2 separate regions of the Homo sapiens genome follow, and region 1 is linked to region 2. The links are contacts of gene promoters, found by promoter capture Hi-C in human tissues and cell types (Jung and others, 2019). All regions are on one chromosome and are shown on one strand. Each heading gives the region's core, a stretch centred on a gene start or on the middle of the fragment in contact. The rest is flanking DNA. Distances are from core to core; before and after follow the strand shown. Region 1 overlaps LOC105369350 (a long non-coding RNA gene). Region 2 holds the start of SNX32 (sorting nexin 32).

What was found. The method cuts DNA at HindIII sites, captures the fragments that hold promoters and counts their contacts. A contact is called where the count stands out against the background at its distance.
Region 1: a fragment that was not itself captured here is called in contact with the fragment with the promoter of SNX32 in region 2 in 3 of the 25 tissues and cell types used here (bladder, lymphoblastoid cells and mesenchymal stem cells).

Annotation. Positions count from the first base shown.
Region 1 is chr11:65,938,058-65,944,021 of GRCh38, forward strand. It overlaps LOC105369350 (a long non-coding RNA gene), which reads right to left. Exons shown (of 3, transcript XR_950212.3): 2 at 251-422; 3 at 1-39. Among named protein-coding and RNA genes, the nearest start is that of TSGA10IP, 4.4 kb to the right of the region's middle. RefSeq lists an enhancer at 2,961-3,460 and a silencer at 3,431-3,654. The HindIII fragment of the contact is 3,895 bases long and covers 1-3,352 here.
Region 2 is chr11:65,829,030-65,835,475 of GRCh38, forward strand. It overlaps SNX32 (sorting nexin 32), which reads left to right and starts at 4,934. Exons shown (of 13, transcript NM_152760.3): 1 at 4,934-5,072. The coding sequence starts at 5,037. It overlaps LOC124902693, which reads right to left and starts at 4,770. Exons shown (of 7, transcript XM_047427980.1): 1 at 2,269-4,770. The coding sequence starts at 4,482. The coding sequence ends at 2,866. RefSeq lists silencers at 4,486-4,615, 4,789-5,001 and an enhancer at 4,926-5,015. The HindIII fragment of the contact is 13,089 bases long and covers 2,235-6,446 here.

The DNA of each region.
Region 1 (5,964 bases), core at 155-2,654, 110 kb after region 2:
GCTCCTTCAGCATTCGGGAGCTGCCTTGCATATCTGGCCCTTTCATGAAAGAGAAGAGAATACAAGTTATTGCAACAATGCAATAATAGCTTTTCATCTATCAGATTAGCAAAGTGAAAATTATAATTGCTGGTGAGGGTATAAATACTGTTGATGGAAATCTATAATGATTGAGCCTTTAGGGGGAATAATTAGGCACCATCAAGATCTAAATGGCTTAGAGCTAGCTAGTTTGCTTATAGAACATTACCTTGCAGAAATCTCAAGACACATTTCCAGGGATGTCCGCAGCTGCAGTGTCTGGAGTGAGGACGCAAGCGGAAGCAGTCCCGGTGTTTGACAAAAGGACACAGGTGATGTACATTAGGTGGGTCAGACAGCCAAACAGTGATGATGGTAAAGACTGGGTGGCTCTGTATGTCCTGACATGGAAAGAATATAACATTCTAGTAGGCAAAACCAGGATGATCTCATTTTTGTTGAAAAATATGTATATGTAGGTTTGTATACACACACACACACACACACACACACACACACACACACACGTCTATCTCTAAAATCACAAGATATTCAAATGGTACACTGGCTCAGGTCTTGGTTTTGCATCGGAGGCCAAGGACAAAGCAATAGCCCCAGGGCCCTGCATTGCTAATCAGGTGCCAGGCCCCCTTGCAGTGAGGACAGGACACTCCTGACCTCAAGTGATCCACCCACCTCAGCCTCCCAAAGTGCTGGGATTACAGGCGTGAGCCACCGCGCCCGGCCCAGACTAGACATTTCAATTTCAATTTCTGAGGCTGTTCTTAGTGATCAGAGGACTTTTCACTACCTGAGGTGACTTGAGAAGTCATAGTGCCTGCTCACGTCTTATCCAGGCCTGGGAACGGCTTGGCCCAAGGGGGAGTGGGTGGGTGGAAAAGGATGCAGCTGTCTCTGTCCGAATGCTGCACCCCGCCTTGCTCAGGGTGTCAGTTCCACATTTGTTTGTGCTCACAGGGGAAAAACACGGGCCAAATACACACCCAAAAGTTAACAGCAGTTCTACTGCACAGATTTAATTTTTTTTTAGACAGAGTTTTACTCTTGTTGCCCAGGCTGGAGTGCAGTGGTACGATCTCGGCTCACTGCAACCTCTGCCTCCCTGATTCAAGCGATTCTCCTGCCTGAGCCTCCCAAAGTAGCTGGGATTACAGGCGCCTGCCACCACACCCTGGTAATTTTTTTGTATTTTTAGCTGAGACGGGGTTTCATCATGTTGACCAGGCTGGTCTCGAACTCCTGACCTCAGGTGATCCACCTGCCTCAGCCTCCCAAAGTGCTGGGATTACAGCTGTGAGCCACTGCACCTGGTCATATTTAAATTTTTGACAGTGTGCATATATTACTTCTATTATCTGAAGAACCAATAAAGATGTTTTCTATCTGTACATGTATTTATTATTTTATTGTATTGTATTTCATTTTATTTTATTTTATTTTATTTTATTTTTTGAGACAGTCTCATTCTGTTGCCCAGGCTGGAGTGCAGTGGTGTGATCTTGGCTCACTGCAGCCTCCACCCCCTGGGTTCAAGCAATTCTCCCATCTCAGCCTCCCGAGTAGCTGGGACTACAGGCATGCACCTCCATGCCCGGCTAATTTTTTTGTATTTTAAGTAGAGACAGGGTTTATCCATGTTGCTTGGGCTGGTCTCAAACTCCGGTGCTCAAGCCATCCTCCTGCCTCAGACTCTCAAAGTGCTGGGATTACAGGCGTGAGCCACTACTCCAGGCTCCCATTGCAGGTTTTAAGCAGAAGTCTTTAAAAAATGGCCCAAGCTGGCCGGGCTCGGTGGCTTACGCCTGTAATCCCAGCACTTTGGGAGGCAGAGGCGGGTGGATCATGAGGTCAGGAGATCGAGACCATCCTGGCTAACACAGTGAAACCCCGCCTCTACTAAAAATACAAAAAATTAGCCGGGCATGGTGGCGGGCGCCTGTAGTCCCAGCTACTCGGGAGGCTGAGGCAGGAGAATGGCGTCAACCCAGGAGGCGGAGCTTGCAGTGAGCCGAGATTGCGCCACTGCACTCCAGCCTGGACGACAGAACAAGAGACTCCATCTCAAAAAAAAAAAAAATGGCCCAGGCTGCTGGGTTGGGAATTGACCATGAAGAAGCAGAAAGTCTATGTAGAAGACAACGGATGTTGAGAATGCTCCAAATAGCTGGTGGTAAGCGTTCAGATTCTGAATGCACTTTGAAATCAGGAACAACTGTTGGATAGGACATAGCATTTCAGAGAGAGAAAAGCCTAGGCTTTTGGTTCGAGAAACTAGAAGGATAGCATAGTCACTAGGCCAAGATGGAGAGGGCTGTGGGGAGGGTCAGGGAGTCAGTTTCAGAGTTGTTGAATGTGAGATGCCTGTTAGACACCTAGATGGAGCAGTGGACTGGGTCATTCGAGTTTGGGAGGCAGGACTCACCTTCTGAGCTTGAGGGAGATGTCTGGACTACAGATAAAAGTGGGGTTCATTGTCTGATAGATTTTATTTAAAATGAGCCTGTCATGCCTGTAATCCCAGCACTTTGGGAGTCTGAAGCAGGAAGATCTCTTGAGCCCAGGGGTTCAAGACCAGCCTGTGCAACATGGCTAGACGTTGTCTCTACAAAAAATACAAAAAATCAGCTGGGCATGGTGGTGCACACCTTTAGTTCCAGCTGCTCAGGAGGCTGAGGCGGGAGTGTCACTTGAGCCCAGGAGGTCGAGGCTGCAGTGAGCCATGATCACGCAACTGCACTCCAGTCAGTCTAGGTGACAGAGTGAGACCTTGTCTCAAAAAAAAAAAAAAACAACCAAAAACCCAAAAACACAAAACCATGGTCCTGGTGAGTCCAGTAAAAGAGGAGCTGTGGCCGGGCGTGGTGGCTCATGCCTGTAATCTCAGCACTTTGGAGGCCGAGGCGGGCGGATCACGAGGTTAGGAGTTCGAGACCAGCCTGGCCAACATAGCGAAACCCCGTCTCTACTAAAAATACAAAAATTAGCCAGGCATGGTGGTTTGCGCCTGTAGTCCCAGCTACTTCGGAGGTTGAGGCAGGAGAATCACTTGAACCTGGGAGGCGGAAGTTGTGGTGAGTCAAGATCTCACCACTGCACTCCAGCCTGGGCAACAGAGTAGCTGTGGACAAAGAAGACAGACGGGGCAGCTGTCCCTCTCCTGCAAGAGGAGGAGGAACTGGCAGAGGAGCTGGGGAAGAGCTGGCCACTGACCTCATGTTAGTGGGAGGGAAGGCATCGGTGATTTTGGCAGGTGCAGGCTCACAGGGTGGTGGGGGTGACAGCCTGCCTGGAGTGGGTTCAAGAAAGAAAGGCAAGGGGGAAATTGACCTTGCCCAGTGAAAACTCTTTCAGAAGGCTTTGCTGCAAAGGGAACACAGAAATGGGGCAGTGTTGAAGAAGGGGAAGTGAGTCAAGAAAGAAGGAACAGTAGTGCTGATGGAAATGATGCCAGAGAGATGAGACATTGCTGATGCAGGAGAGAGTGGGAGGACGGCCGGAGCCACATCGCTGAGCAGGCAATCAGCAAATGAATGAATGTGTGTGAAGCGGTGATAAGAGAAGCAGAGCAAATGGTGGTGCCTATTAGGGACTTAGGGGATCTGGGCAGGGAGGGCTTCTTTGGCAGGTGTCATTTTAGCAGAAACCTAGAGGTCCTGAAGGAGTAAGCCATGTGGATTCTGGGGAGAGAGCATTTCAGGAAGAAGAAACAGTCGGTGCAAAGGGCCTTAGGGCAGACTGGCTGGCGTACCGAAGGGAGAGTGTGGTTGGATCGGAGTGAGAAGGGATCATGGTGGCACTTGTGAGCAAACACCTGTGAAACATGCAGGACCTAGTGGGCCAGTAAGGACTTTGCCTTTTACTCAGCGAGACCCAGGACCCATCACAGGCGTGATGGACTCTGTTTTTTTTTTTTTGTTTTTTTTTTTTAGTTAAGGTCTTGCTCTGTTACCCAGGCTGGAGTGCAGTGGTGCAATCAGGGCTCATTCTGCCTCCTGGGCTCAAGTGGTCCTCCTACCTTAACTTCTCTAGTAGCTGAGATCACAGGCATACTCCACCACACCTGGCTAATTTTAGTATTATTTTTTGTAGAGAAGGGGTTTGCCATGTTGCTCAGGCTGGCCTCGAACTCCTGGCCTCAAGCCATCCGCCTGCCTCAGCCTCCTAAAGTGCTGGGATTACAGGTGTGAGCCACTGCGTCCAGCTGGGCTCTATTCTTCACAGAATCACACTGGTTGCTGAGTAGAGAATGGTATCAGGACAAAAGCAAAAACCGGGAGGTTGGGTGTGGTGGCTCACGCCCATAATCCCAGCACTTTGGGAGGCTGAGGCAGGTGGATGGCTTGAGGCCAGGAGTTCGAGGCCAGCCTGGGAAATATAGTGAGCTCCCATGTCAATAAAAAATAAATAAATAAGCAAAAGCCGGAGATTAAGCGTTACTGAAATGATCCAGAAGAGAGAGGGTGTTGGTTTGGAGAAGTGCTGGATTCTGCATGTATTTCAAAGGTGGAGCTGGTAGGGTTTGCTAAGGCATTAGGGGCAGAATGTGAGTCAAACGAAAGAGTCAAGGATCATGCCAGGGCGTTGACCTGAGCAACAGGAATCTCAGACATGCCCCTGACTGGGATGAGGCAGGCCAGTAGTCTGACCTTCAGCATGTCAAGTTGAAATGCTTATTTATCCAAGTGGGGATGTCAGATGGGCCACTGGATATTTAAGTATGGGAGAGGTCAGGCTGAGATACGTAAACCTGGGGACGGGTGGAAAACAGCAGGTGCTGGCCTGGCGCAGTGGCTCATGCCTGTAATCCCAATGCTTTGGGAGGCCGAGGCAGGCCAGGAGTTCAAGACCAGCCTGGACAACATGGCAAAACCCCATCTCTACCAAAAAATATAAAAATTAGCCGGGCATAGTGGCGCGTACCTGTAGTCCCAGCTACTCGGGTGGCTGAGGTGGGAGGATCACTTGAGCCTGGGAGGTTGAGGCTGCAGTGAGCTGTAATGGCACTACTGCACTCCAGCCGGGGTGACAGAGTGAGACTCTGTCTCAGAAAGCAAGCAGCAGGTGGCTTTTAAGGCCATCAGACTGGATGAGCTCACTTAGGGAGGGAGTGTGGTAAAGGAAAGAGGTCTGTATGCACCTCATGAGAATATCAACCTGAGAAACCCAGACCTGCCCTCTGCCAAGGAAGAAAGTGGCCCAGAGTTCTGGACTGTCCAGGAAATCACCTGGGGTTGAGGTCTGGAAGGGGCTCCGTTTCTGAAAGTGAAGCTGCCTACATGTGCCTTCCACTGGGCCCCAGGTGTGGGAGAAGGATGGCAGCCCCCTAGAAAGAAAAGAGTTTGCATATTTTGGGTGGCAAAAGAGCTTCACCCGGAGCAGCACTATTTAGGATATTTACATTGGATGTGCTCATTGTGAGGTGCCACTGGGATGGAGTCTGAGAGCAGAAGAGGAGCCACAGGGCCACAGTCTGAGAAAAATCCTGCCTCTATGGCATCTTCCAGGATAGTCTGCTTCCCTGGGGCCACATCATTGATTAATTAATAACAGCAACACGGCCCGGTGCAGTGGCTCACACCTGTAATCCCAGCACTTTGGGAGGCCAAGGTGGGTGGATCACTTGAGGTCAGGAGTTCAAGACCAGCCTGGCCAACATGGTGAAACCCTCTCTCTACTAAAAATACAAAAAATTAGCCGGGCATGGTGGCACATGCCTGTAATCCTAGTTACCCGGGAGGCTGAGGTGGGAGAATCGCTTGAACCCAGGAGGCAGAGGTTGCAGTGAGCCGAGATCACATCACTGCACTCCAGCCTGGGCAACAGAGCAAGACTCCATCACAAAAAGAAAAAAAAAAGATAATAAGAATAACAGCAATGCTAACATAGCAGTTCCCATGAGCCATGAGGATGTTCTGTTTGTAT
Region 2 (6,446 bases), core at 3,684-6,183:
TCTCTACTTAAAAAAAAAAAAAAACTAGTCTCTTGTGGTGGTGTACACCTGTAGTCCCAGCTACTTGGGAGGCTGAGGAGATTGCTTCAGCCTAGAAGGTTGAGGCTGCAGTGAGCCATGATCATGCCACTGCACTCCAGCCTGAGTGACAGAGTGAGACCCTATTTCAAAAACAACAACAATGACAAAAAAAAAAAAAGTTTGGAGATGGAGTGGTAACCAACTTGGCAGAGTGGAGGCAGCTGGCACTTAAGTGCTTAAAGATAATAGAAACGAAAAGTTAACAGTTCACTCTACTTATCCCCAAAAAAGTTCAGGACATGGAGGGACCAGATAGCTCAGATGGAAGGAAAAAGGCATAGAGCTGAGAACAGAGAAATTATTTAGGAGTCTGTATATAAAGCAGTTAAGCTTACAAATCCCCTCCCCAACCTTTTTTAGCTGGGCACCAACTCCCATAGCACAGCAGAGGGTTTACTCTTTGGGGAAACTGAATCTGAGAAGCACCAACTCAGGGACACCAGGCACAGCTGAAGGTGGAGTGAGCACTGAGCTGAAAACAAGGGACTGGGTAAAAACATATGTACCAAGCGGTGGCTCCACAACCGTCTCCCCTGACCCTGCTGCTGTAACCTCTATAGCAGGGGCCATGCAGATATCCCCCAGACAGATTGGAGAATTCTCTGTAGAAACCAGACGGTCCCTTCAGTGAGATTTACAGATTCTGATATTTGGGTGTACCCAGTAAAATATCCTGCTTGCTTCAGTCGCCACAGAGTGAAGCCCATAGATCAACAAGCCCCAAATTGTGCTTCCAATTGCCTCTGCTTAATGCCTCATTCTTAAATATGGACAGCCGAAGATCAAACATTTGAGGAAAACTTCCAACAATACACACACAAAAAAAATGGAGCGGGGGGAAGCAGGGGAGGGGAACTCAGGGGAAACAATAAGAAAAGCAGAAGAAAACTTAAAAACTGGAAAAATCCTTGGAGAGCTAAGAGAACAGACTCATGAAACAAGAACAGAAATACTATATATAAAAAAAGAAGCACGGCCGGGCTCGGTGGCTCACGCCTGTAATCCCAGCACTTTGGGAGGCCAAGATGGGTGGATCACCTGAGGTCAGGAGTTCAAAACCAGCCTGACCAACATGGTGGAACCCCGTTTCTACTAAAAATACAAAAAATTAGCCGGGTGTGGTGATGCATTCCTGTAATCCCAGCTCATGCAGTGAGCACAGGAGGCTAAGTCAGGAGAATTGCTTGAACCGGGGAGGCGGAGGTTGCAGTGAGCCAAGATCACGCCATTACACTCCAGCCTGGGTGACAGAGCAAGACTCCAGACTCCATCTCAAAAAAAAAAAAAAAAGCAATCAATGAACAAGAGAGTTAAAATGTAAAATTTCAATAAGAAAGAAAGATACAGTTAATAAAGTTGAAAGTGGATCTCATGAAAATAGAGATGAGATTGGTGGTTACTGGAGGCCAGGAAGGGTGGAGGAAATAAAGACATGTTAATGAGTAGAAATGTACAGTTAGATGGAAGAAATGGGACCCAGTGTTCTATAGATCAGTAGGGTGACTGTAGTTAACAATAATCTATTGTACATTTCAAAATCACTAGAAGAGAATGATTCGAATGTTCCTGGCATAAAGAAAAGATAAATATTTAAGATGATGGATATCCCAATTGCCCTGATTTGATCTTTACACATTATATGAATGTATCAAAATATTACAGGTACCCCCAAAATACGTACATCTACTATACATCAATTGTTTTAAAGTTAATGAAATTGCCCAGAGAATACAATAAAAAGAGACGGGCAAAAGGAGAAAAAAAGATAACAGCTATAATTCAAGGTCTAACATCCTCTAGTAAGGCCAGAGAAAATGGGGTGAGGATACAGGTTGAGTTAGGGAGTGGTAGCAAACAGGTAATTTACATAGAAAAAAACACTATCTATAGAATTAAAAGAAAAGAACAAAAAGACTTATAAATAGCAATACTTGGAAGTTAGAAGATAGTGAGGGAATTAGCCAGGCATGGTGGCACATGTCTGTAATCCCAGCTACTTGGGAGGCTGAGACAGGAGAATCGCTTGAGCCTGGGAGGCAGAGGTTGCAGTGAGCCGAGATTGCGCCACTGCACACTCCAACCTGGGCAACAGAGCAAGACTGTCTCAAAAAAAAAAAAGAAAAAAGAAAAAGAAAGAAAGAAAGAAAGAAAAGAAAAGAAAAGAAAAGGAAATAATGAAGGACATACCAACAAACACAATCACCATTATGGCACGTGGCTTCTTATGTTTTTTCTCACTTCTTTCTTATCTCCTCTCTTGCTTTTGTCACTTGGGAGCCCTTCATTCTTCAGGCTCCTCTTTCAGAAATTTTGCCCACTTCAGTCTGCACCTTCTTCCACAACTCTCAAAATCTACCCTTTATCCTGCTGCAATTCTCCATCTCATAGACCCCATTTAGTGTCAGACTAAATCCTTCTAGCCCATCCTCCATCCTTTTCTCAAACATTTCCCTATGAGCTCCCAGTCACACCTTTTCTCCCAATATCCAAGTGTCCTCTGTCAACACATTACCAAGTCTTCTCTTTCTCCTCCATATGTTCCCACTTCCCTCTGAACCAGAGACTCCTCTTTGCTTCCTTTGATCCTGGCCTCCGCCTTCAGCCCCAGAAGCTCTTTTCCTCACTTCCACTCTCTTTTATTTTAGGCTCAGACTCTCTCCTTTCCTTTCTCAACTTTACCCCTTCAGTGTCAATAATGTTCTGTCTGGCTCTAATTTCTCCTCTGACTTTCAGTACTTCTCCTGTCTGCCTCTTTCCTTCTTTGGTGTCAATCCTTCATCTGCCTCATTCACTGGTACCTTCACCTATAATATCTTTTTTTTCCATAGAAACAGATTCATCAGTGATATCTTTCACTTCACTCAAGATGCCCCCCTCAACTCCCACTCCTTTCTCAGTCCCTTGTAGTTCCTCACTCCCTTTGACACTTTCAAAAGGAATTTCCATCTCATCATGAGTAAATGCCATCACTCTTTCATCGCCAGTAACTTCTACCACTTTTTCAATGTTCTTCTCATTTATGCTCCCCATTCTTGAACCCTCCAATTTCTCCCCGCTGGTCCCTAACTTCTCCTCACTAGATCTCAGCTTCTCCGCACTTGACCCCAGCTTCTCTCCACTCAACCTCAGCTTCTCTCTGCTTGATCTCAGCTTCTCTCCACTGGTTCCCAGCTTCTCTCTGCTTGATCTCAGCTTCTCTCCACTCAACCTCAGCTTCTCATCACTTGTTCCCAGCTTCTCTCCACTCAATCTCAGCTTCTCTCTGCTTGATCTTAGCTTCTCTCCACTCAACCTCAGCTTCTCTCTGCTTGATCTTAGCTTCTCTCCACTCAACCTCAGCTTCTCATCACTGGTTCCCAGCTTCTCTCCACTCAACCTCAGCTTCTCTCTGCTTGATCTCAGCTTCTCTCCACTCAACCTCAGCTTCTCTCCACTCAACCTCAGCTTCTCATCACTGGTTCCCAGCTTCTCTCCACTCAACCTCAGCTTCTCTCTGATTGATCTCAGCATCTCTCCACTCAACCTCAGCTTCTCATCACTGGTTCCCAGCTTCTCTCCACTAGTTCCCAGCTTCTCTCCACTCCATCTCAGCTTCTCTCTACTTGATCTCAAATTCTCTCCACTTGATCTCAGCTTTCTGCCACTGGACCTCAGCTTCACTCCACTGGACCCCTGCTTCTCTCCCCTGCACACCAGCTTCTCACTAGTAGACCTCAGCTTCTCTACACTTGATCTCATCTTGTCTACACTAGACCTCAACCCCTTCTCATCCTGTCCCAGTTTATATCCATTGGATCTCAAGTCCTCTCCACTGGTCCCTACCTTCTCCCCAGCAGACCTCAACCTCTCTTCAAACCCAGACCCCTTCATAGGCCCTGCTGTCATCCCTGCACTCTTAGATTTAGCCTTTATTTCGTGTTTGACCTCTTGCTTTCCCCAAATACCCCTTGGGCTGTCTTTCCCCAAATCTGCTGAAGCTTGTGATGCACTTGCTCCACGGTATAGCAGCTTCACATCCATCCTTTCCTGACTCGGGCCTGACTTCCCTTTCAAGACCGTCTTTTCCACATCTTCCAGTCTCCAGTACTCAGACTCCAGCTTCGGCTTTCGAGTGTTTCTAGTCAGGAGCTCCACTCTCTTCCCAATTACCATGAGCCCGTTCCAAGGTCCCCAGGTTTTCTCTCGCAGCATCGGCACCCCCTTGCAGCCCCGCTCCAGTGGCGACCGTTCGCGGACCCCGGCCTCGCTTGGGGCGCCCTGGCCGCGGGACTTGTGGAGCTCCCTAGTCCTCCTAGGCTGCTTACCCCGCCGCTCCCTCCCGTCCAAGAGCGGAAACCTAAACAGACCCCCCTTCTCCACAGACATTGTCCCCTGCCCTCGCCCCTGGTCCACCACCCACATCCCCACCACTGCTTCCCATTCCCTGTCCCCACCCTGCCACCCTCACCCTCTTCCCCTTCCCCTTCCCCTTCCCCACTGCCTGGTGGGCGCCAAACTGGGCGAGTGCGCACGCGCAGGCCGCACGTGGCCGTTGGAAGGAGGGGCCCGGAACGGCGGCACGGGGTTGTTGTGGGGGTCAGTCCCCCGGGGACTGGAGGGAGACGCGGCACGCGGCCTCTGCGACCCTATGAACTCTGACCCCAGCTCCCACACTGTCGCCTATCACCGGCCCACTCTCCGTGCCGCGTGTCCCTTAAAAGCTGGGGCCTGGGACAGGAACGACAGACAATGCAGCCAATGGCGTCACGCGCGGTGCCCCGCTACCCAATCGAAAGGCGTGGCTGAGGGAAACGCGGTGGGAACCGCCCCCGACTCCAGGCGACTCCTTGGCCGGGCGGGGGAGAGCGTCCCCGTCAGCTGAGAGCATCCTCACTCGGTCAGTTCCTCGGGCGAGTTACGGGGACGACCTGCGGGAGCACGCGGGCAGTGGCCGGACGCTGAAGCCCAGGAGAGCGATGGAGACGTATGCGGAGGTTGGGAAGGAGGGCAAGGTAGAGAAAGGATGAAGACCCCCACCCCAGCCTCCCCTCACTCCATGAAAGCCCGTGATGCCCAATCATGCGGTGGTGTGTGTGTGTCTGTGTGTGTGTGGTCTGCCTCTGTGTGTTTCTGTGTGTGTCTGTGTGTGTATAGTCTGCATGTGTCTGTTTCTCTGTGTGTCTGTGTGTATGTCGATGTGCCTGCATATGTCTGTGTGTGTGTGTATCTGTGTATGTCTGTATTTGTGTCTCTGTGTGTCTGTGTGTCTGTGTGTGTCTCAGTGTGTGTCTGTGTCTTTGTGTGTCTCTGTGTATCTGTGTGTGTGTCTGTGTGTCTCCGTGTCTCTGTGTGTGTGTGTATGGCCTGTGTGTGTCTGTGTGTGTGCACGTATGCGTCCATGTGGGTGTTTGTGCGTGCATGTCTGTGTCTGTCTCTGTGTGTGTCTGTGCATGTCTGTGTGTGTGTGTCTGTGTGTCTGTGTCTGTGTATGGTCTGCGTGTGTCTTTGTGTCTGTGTCTGTCTGTGTGTATGGTCTGCATGTGTGCATGTATGCATCTGTGTGTGTCTCTGTGTGTATCTGTGTGTGCACGCATGTGCCTGTGTGTGTCTGCGCAGGTCTGTGTCTCTTTGTGTCTGAGTGTGTGTCTGTCTCTGTGTCTATGTATGGTCTGCGTGCATCTTTATGTCTGTGTGTGTGTGTCTCTGTGTGTGTGTATGGTCTGCGTGTGTCTGTGTGTGTGTGTCTGTGTATTTCTGGGTCTGTGTGTGTGTTTGCATGTGTCTGTGTGTGTCTGTATCCGTGTGTCTTTGTATATCTGTGTGTGTCTATGTCAGTGTGTCTGTGTGTGCATCTGTGTGTGTCTGTGTGCCTGTGTATGATCTGTGTATGTCGTTGTGTGTGTCTGTGTGTGTGTTTCTCTGTGCCTGTGTGTTTGTGTGTGTCTGTGTATCTGTGTGTGTTTCTATGTGTGTCTGTGTGTGCGTGTGTCTGTGTTTGTCTCGTGTGTCTGTGTGTGTGTATGTGCCCATGTGTCTCTGTGTGTATGTGTGTGTCTGCGCAAGTGAGAGAAAGGAGACTTGAGCAAGGGAGTGGGGAGCCTCTGTGGCACCTGTGTGCGGACTGATGAGGATGCCAAGGGAGGCAGGGTTTTGCCTTTGTCCTTACAGATGGAAAGGGACCCGTCACTGTCACTCTTACCCTCCCCAAGACCAACTCAGGCTGTCTTGATGGGGGTAGGTGGGTAGGGGGTGGGAGGTGAGGGCGGGGAGGAGGGCAGGATGTTAGGGATTGAGCAGAGGCTGGCATCCTCTTCTCCTTTCCCAAGGCGAGAGAATCCTGTTCAGCCCTAATGGCTTCACTTGTGTTCTGAGTTCATGTAATGATA